Linked DNA regions of Homo sapiens: region 1 is linked to region 2. Evidence: promoter capture Hi-C in 16 types of primary human blood cells and fetal thymus (Javierre and others, 2016). All regions are on one chromosome and are shown on one strand. Each heading gives the region's core, a stretch centred on a gene start or on the middle of the fragment in contact. The rest is flanking DNA. Distances are from core to core; before and after follow the strand shown.

The links. Contacts are between HindIII fragments. The CHiCAGO score rates a contact against its expected background, and 5 or more counts as called.
Region 1: a contact is called between a fragment that was not itself captured here and the fragment with the promoter of ATP13A1 in region 2, in 1 of 17 cell types (non-activated CD4 T cells). The highest score is 5.4, in non-activated CD4 T cells.

What each region holds. Positions count from the first base shown.
Region 1 is chr19:20,772,296-20,776,259 of GRCh38, reverse strand. No RefSeq gene overlaps it. Among named protein-coding and RNA genes, the nearest start is that of ZNF66, 2.0 kb to the left of the region's middle. The HindIII fragment of the contact is 252 bases long and covers 1,125-1,376 here.
Region 2 is chr19:19,661,736-19,665,338 of GRCh38, reverse strand. ATP13A1 (ATPase 13A1) reads left to right here and starts at 1,663. Exons shown (of 26, transcript NM_020410.3): 1 at 1,663-2,068. The coding sequence starts at 1,673. RefSeq lists silencers at 1,177-1,226, 1,667-1,926 and enhancers at 1,327-1,616, 1,960-2,061, 1,333-2,315, 2,447-2,496, 3,197-3,603 and 1 more. The HindIII fragment of the contact is 4,289 bases long and covers 1-2,514 here.

The DNA.
Region 1 (3,964 bases), core at 1-2,500, 1.1 Mb before region 2:
CGTGCCTGATTGGACGGTTTCCAGCCCAGCGCCTCTGATTGGCTAATGCTTAAGGTCCCGCCCCCTCAGACACTGAGTGACAGAAGATGTGATCAGCTGCTGGGCGGAGTGAAGAAAAGAGTGACAGCCTAAGCTGCAGCCTTTTCAGGCAGGGCTTCCTCCCAGAGCTGAGCCTGGTCCATGCCAGAGCATGGGAACATTTTATCTCTTTTTTACTCTCTGTCTTGTTGAATGTATTCAAAGGTGAACAGAAGTATTTTGCTGTCATATTAATAATACATAAAATTTTTGTTCAAGAGAAAATCAGCTTTTACTTTGGTAATAGTGTATTAACGATTAAAGCTAATTTTAATAAAACCTTATAAATAAATCAAATTTGTCATTTTTGACCACTCCAGATTTACATATATATTTTGTAATCCCTGTAATTTTTTTATCTATTTATATTTTATTTTTATCCACATTCTTCTTATTTTTTCAACTTGAAACAACCTTTAAGTAATTTCAAACTGCTATAAGAGATAGAAATAATTTAGGGTCAGGCACAGGTAGCTCATGCCAGTAATCCCAACACTTTGGGAGGCCAAGGTGGGTGGATCACTTGAGGTCAGGAGTTCAAGACTAGCCTGGCCAACATGGTGAAACCCCATCTCTACTCACAATGTAAAAAATTAGCTGGGTATGGTGGTGCACATCTGTGGTCCCAGCTACTCCGGAGGCTGAGGCAGGAGAATCACTTGAACCCAGGAGGTGGAGGTTATGTAACAGCCCAAGGGGTTCATTTTGCCCTTTGCCTAGACAGAGCCAATTCATGAAGACAGGAGAATTTATGGAGGAAAAGTTAAATGTTAAATTTGAACTCAATTGAACGTGGACACAATGGTCACCAAGTCCCAGAACAGGTCCTGGTTGTGAGCCCCTGAGGTGTTCATCCAGAGCTGTATCAAAGAAATGTCTATTTCATTCTATTACTATACATTAGTTGTTGAAAAACAATAGACAATCACAAAAACAACTTGACCCTTTTGTGTTCCGTGAGGCAAGTCCCAAATGGCCCTCCTCACTGGGCCTTATGCCAAACAACTCGTTACAAAAGAGCTAGGGTCCCAGACCACCCTGAAGCTTCATGAGACTCCTTGTCTGTGCATGAATGGGTGGCCGACTCTGGAGCCTGGGCTGTTTCTTCCTACTCAGTTGGTAATCCTCCATAGTCTAGTGAGGGTAAATATATATATATATCTTTTCCCATCTCCTCTTCTTACTGCAATTTGCTTATTATATCAATCTGTGTATTATATTTATTTGCTTATTATATCATTTGCTTATTATATCATTAGTTTATTCTGTCTGCATTGATATTGATGTGGGTTAAAGCTTGTTTACCATTAAAGTTATTGTATGTATGTCTTTTCTTCTCCTCTCCCACGTTTCCCATACAGAACATTTTTGGCATCACAAACAGGATTTGAAAACAAAAGTGGGCCCCTTTTTGACCAGAAGGATAGGGCTGGAGGCTCAAGGATTTCCCATATCCTGAGATGGGATCACTCCCAGTTCTCCTTCTTTGTGATTGAATGGTTCAGGGGAACTGGCCTTTGTGGGAATTGGGAATCTAAATTAGTGCAATTTAAACCTTTGACTGTGCGTGAAGTGCTGCAGGGGATTCCAGTCACCAAAGGAGATGCTGAGGGAATCTCACAAAGTGGATAGTGTTTGATTGCTGCTTATAAGTTAATGTGTCAAGATAGGGGCTGGTTGCTACAAGAGAAATATAAGCTGGAAAAGGAAAATGCTAATCTGACTTCCGGACTGGCCCTGGCCCAATGCCAGTCAATGTCTTGACTGATCAGGCTCAAAGCTATCAGCCTATTGCTGAAAAAAGCAGCTGTCCAGGTGGCCCAATCAGGGTAAAACTGAAGAACTAGTCAGCCGGGGCTTAGAGCATGTAAAAACCCAGTTCCTATCTCAAAAATGGGAAATTAAGCCTAGTAAAATTAAGGATCCGCACAAAGTGTAAAATTCTTTGGCATCCTATGGAATGCAAAGAAACAGTCCACTTCACCAAAGGCTAAGGCTAAAATACTATAATTTGCAACCCCTACCACTAAGAAGGAGGCCCAGAAATGTATTGACTTGTTTGGATTCTGAACACATCATATTCCTTACTTGGGTAACATTTTACAACATCTGAATGCAGCCACTAGAAAAAGGTATGACTCTCACTGTGGAGAGAAAGACAGCATGGCTTTTGAACAAGCTAAACAAGCAGTGCAACTGGCCCTGGATCTATGGCCTATATGGGATGGGCCTGATGAACTGCGAGTAACTGTCGTAGATCAACATGCTAATTGGAGCCTTAGGCAGAAACAAGATGGAAAGAGGGTACTTTTCATGTTTTGGACCCAGAAACTGCCAGAGGCTGGAAAAGCTTATTCCTCTTTTGAGAAGCAATTGTTAGCTTGCTATTGAGCTTTGCTGGAAATGGAACACCTCTGCTTCAACCACGATGTCTTTATGAGGCCTGAAATTTCTATTATGACTTTGGTCATGAGTTCCCCCAAAACCCACCAGATAGGGCATGCCCAGAAAGTAGCATCATAAAATGGAAATGGGACATACAAAACCAGGCTAAGCCAAAATCATAGGGGCTATCACTTTTACATGAGGATGTGGAAAACCTGCGAGCTCAGGAAACAACCAAGCAAGTCCTGCAGATAGGGAAAGAAACACCCCCCACACACACACATCAAATGGGGCAAATCCTTTAAAGAACTAAGCCCAGAGGATCAGAAACATGCTTGGTTTACTGATGGATCCACCAAATACTTTGGTGGGACCCAATGCTGGAGGGCTGTGGCTTATAATCCTGTTAAAAACATAAGCATTTCTGATGAAGGAAGGGGTGGGAGCAGCCAGTTAGCTGAACTAGTAGTCGTTTCTCCGAGCTATTCAGGAGGAGGCCAGAGGGATTTGTTACTTTTATATCAACTCTTTGTCAGTAGCAAATGGTCTTACTACCTGGGTGCCCAAGTGGCAATGAAACAAATGGTTAATGCGGAATAAAGAGGTTTGGGGAAAACAATATTGGTAAGGTATCTGAATCCTGGTGCATACTCCCATCGTCACTGTGTTCCATGTTTTTTTGTTGTTGTTTTTTGTTTTTGAGATGGAATCCAGCCCTGTCACCAAATTGAAGTGCAGTGGTGCAATCTCAGCTCACTGCCACCTCCATCTCCACGGTTCAAGTGATTCTTCTGGCCTCTGCCTCCCAAGTAGCTTGGATTACAGGCACAGGCTGCCACGCCCAGCTAATTTTGTATTATTTTTTATTTATTCATTTTTTAGATGCAGTCTCACTCTTTCATTAGGCTGGAGTGCAGTGGCACAATCTGGGTTCACCACAACCTTCATGTCCCAGGTTCAAGCAATTCTCCTGCCTCAGCCTCCCGAGTAGCTGGGACTACAGGCACACACCACCATACCCAGCTAATTTTTGTATTTTTAGTAGAGATGAGGTTTCACCATGTTAAACAGGATGGTCTCCATCTCTTGACCTCCTGATCAGCAGGCCTTGGCCTCCCAAAGTGCTGGGATTAGAGGTATGAGCCACCATGCTCAGTTTATTTTTGTAATTTTAGAGACGGGGTTTTGCCATGTTGGCCAGGATGGTCCCAATCTCTTGACCTTGTGATCTGCCCACCTCAGCCTCCCAAAATGCTGGGATTACAGGTGTGAGTCACTGTGCCTGGCCCTGTTTTCCATGTTGATGCTAGTGTGTCTCTGCTTCCTCTTGACAGACTATTTAATCAGCAGGAAGATCAACAGGCAAAAATTTCCACCATAACTGTGATCTTGAATGTGGGTAAATGGATTACAACATGTTCAAGCCTTGCAATGAGAAGCATAATAATGTATGGTGGAATAATTGATAGTGATTACCGGGGAGAGTTAAAGGACATTTTAT
Region 2 (3,603 bases), core at 414-2,913:
ATTTTAAGTTTAAATAAATTTGCTGTATCAGAGGACAAAAAGAAACATAAAATAGTTACTGTTTGTCACACATACTGTTTAATCCTACTAATTGGTACTGTTAAGTAGTCCTATTGTGGTTTTGTTCAAATAGCATTTATGCAACAGTACAGTTAATAATATAGAACTATATAATTTCTTTTTTTTTTTTTTTTCAGACAGAGTCTCGCTCTGTCGCCCAGGCTGGAGTGCAGTGGCGCGATCTCGGCTCACTGCAAGCTCCGCCTCCCAGGTTCAGGCCATTCTCCTGCCTCAGCCTCCCGAGTAGCTGGGACTACAGGCGCCTGCAACCACGCCCGGCTAATTTTTTGTATTTTTAGTAGAGACGGGGTTTCACTGTGTTAGCCAGGACGGTCTCGATCTCCTGAACTCGTGATCCGCCCGCCTCGGCCTCCCAAAGTGCTGGAATTACAGGGGTGAGCCACCGCGCCCGGCCTAGAAGTATATAATTTCAAGTAAACACCAGTTTTTCATTTTTTATGTTAAAGTGGTAATTTCTTTTTTTTTTTTTTTTTTTTTTTGGAGACAGAGTCTCGCTCTGTCGCCCAGGCTGGAGGGCAGTGGCACAATCTCCGCTCACTGCAAGCTCTGCCTCTCCAGTTCGCGCCATTCTGCCTCAGGCTCCGGAGTAGCTGGGACTACAGGCGCCCGCCACCACGCCCGGAGAATTTTTTTTTTTTTTTTGTATTTTTAGTGGAGACGGGGTTTCACCGCGTTAGCCAGGATGGTCTCGATCTCCTGACCTCGGCCTCCCAAAGTGCTGGGATTACAGGCGTGAGCCACCGCGCCCGGCCTAAAGTGGTTTTTGTAATTCATTTTTCTTTTTTTTTTTTTTGAGACAGTCTTGCTCTGTTGGCCAGGCTGAAGTGCAGTGGAGCAATCTTGGCTCACTGCAACCTCCGTCTCCCGGGCTCAAGCAATTCTCCTGCCTCATCCTCCCGAGTAGCTGGGATTACAGGCATGTGCCACCACGCCCGGCTAATTTTTGTATTTTTAGTAGAGACGTGGTTTCACCATGTTGGGTCTTGAACTCCTGATCTCAGGTGATCCACCCGCCTCGCCTCCCAAAGTGTTGGGATTACAGGCGTGAGCCACCGCGCCCGGCTAGTATTTGTAATTCTTATCTATCACATTAAGGCTCTTGTCCGGTGTGGTTGTGTTCCGGGGCGGTCCCCGACCCCGCCCCTCACAAGCCCCGCCCCCCGCACCGGGCCCCGCCTCCTGAACTCCGAAGCTCCCGACCCCGCCTCCGCAGGGTCCAGGCTTCGCCCCTGGTGACAGGTGGTGCTGGTGTAGTCAAGGAGGAGGGCTCGCTTTTTTTGGTTCAGGTTGTCATGGTGGCGCCCAAGCCCGCCTTGCCGGCCTTGTCTTTTCCGGTCTCAGTCCGGCGTGGCAGCGGAGGCAGGCACCGTTAGGTCTTCCAGTCCCTCTCTGTCATGGCGACGCCCAGCCTCTTCTTCCGGCCACAGCCTGTCATGGCGGCACCCGAAGTAGTCCCTGCCGGGGCCAGCCTGTTCTGTTGCCCTGGCTCTTCCTAGTCCAGGCTGCCATGGCGGCGCTCAGGGCTTACCGGAAGTAAAACTTCGGAAGTGAGGCGTTCCTCTGCCCGGAAGTGAGCGCGGCGCTAGGAAAGATGGCGGCAGCGGCGGCGGTGGGCAACGCGGTGCCCTGCGGGGCCCGGCCTTGCGGGGTCCGGCCTGACGGGCAGCCCAAGCCCGGGCCGCAGCCGCGCGCGCTCCTTGCCGCCGGGCCGGCGCTCATAGCGAACGGTGACGAGCTGGTGGCTGCCGTGTGGCCGTACCGGCGGTTGGCGCTGTTGCGGCGCCTCACGGTGCTGCCATTCGCCGGGCTGCTTTACCCGGCCTGGTTGGGTGCCGCAGCCGCTGGCTGCTGGGGCTGGGGCAGCAGTTGGGTGCAGATCCCCGAAGCTGCGCTGCTCGTGCTTGCCACCATCTGCCTCGCGCACGCGCTCACTGTCCTCTCGGGGCATTGGTCTGTGCACGCGCATTGCGCGCTCACCTGCACCCCGGTAAGTGTGTACACGCGAGCCCGACCCCCAGCACGGTCGAGCCTCGCCGTGGGTCCCAGCTGCGGCCTTCCTGTCGGTCACCATCGCGACCTGGGCCACTCATCTGCCTGGCCTGGATTCCCAGGGGCACCCTCTACACTTTGGCGCAGGCTTAATCATGACCCCACTGCTGACTTGCTGTGCATGCCTGGTGCGGGTTATTTCCTTTTTCTGAAGTCCTCCCTGTTATGGTCATTTAGATTCAGTGATGTAATACTTGTAAAAGGCTTAGCGCAGGGCCCAGCATACGTCGCCCAGGTCAGGTAGGAGTTGTTTATACTAGTTCCCATATTAGCGACTACTCTTGTTCTGGAAACGGCCCTACCTTCCATCTCATCTGTCTCCTACCTTGGTTTTCAAAGTGTAAGGCGAGATCACTGGGATAGGTTTCCCCCATCTATGAAGCTTAGTTGGTTCTTAGACTGAACCAAGTCTTGCTGTCCAGTGCTTAGTGGTCTTCCATACTGTGATGGAAAGGAGCATGAAATGCAGTTAATTACAGTGTTGAAGAGAGGCAGAGGTGTTTATGAGCGAGTCATTTACATGATGTCTTTCCGCAAAATGAGGGTGGTGATACTGAGTTCTGTCGGGGATACAACAGCAAGCAAGGTCGCGCTCCTGACCCACAGTTTAGAGTTCTGAGTGACCAAGTGTCGTCGGAGGAGTTGGTGACTGTGAGCTTCCCTGGGCCTGAAGCAGTGACTGTGTCGTCTCTCTCTGGGCCTGCCTCAGGTGACACCAGCAGGTTTGGAGCCATGGACACTGAGGTATATCAGGAAGCTTCCCCTCTGATTCCAGGAGTGTGTTTGCCTCAAGAAGAGGAAAAGGGAACAGCATCAAGGGCTACAGAAAGACAGAAGCCCCCCACCCTGGCTGGCTCTGAATGTGGGTAGAATCCTCATTCTCCTCTCCTGAGAGACAACCTGTTCTGTCCTTCAAAAAGACTTATCTATCCCAGGGGAGGAGCTCAACGTGGTAGCTTTGAGGTAGTACAATGAAAGACACCAATGAGGGACAAAATAAAGGAGGGGTTAAGGGGACTGTGGCACCGCTCAAACTTCAGCTGCCTTTTGACCTGCAGCTAAGCAGCTTAGCTCTTAACTTCCTCTCCAGGGATGGAGAAGTGGGAGGAGCTGAACAGCCATCAGCCAGGAGAGGTGGATCTGGGTTTGATTCAGATCTCAGAAAGGGCCGCTTCTGCTCTCTGAGTTTCAGTTTCCCCCTTCTGTAAACTGAGAACCGTAACTAACAACTACTGGGTGCCATCTTGAGAAGCGGAGATGATATCTGCAGAGTGCCCGCCCTGGGGCCATCACAGCGTATAGCCTCTTGTACCTTTCTTCCGTGACGTCACGTTTGTAGTTATGTGATTGTTGTTATTTGCTGCCTGCTTTGGAGGCCCATGAACCACCCGTGCGGTGGCGCTTTGTTTCTGCGGGTCATCATTGTGCTCCCCCCATCTCCATGCAGCTCGTCTCCATGCAGCTCGGTCTAGC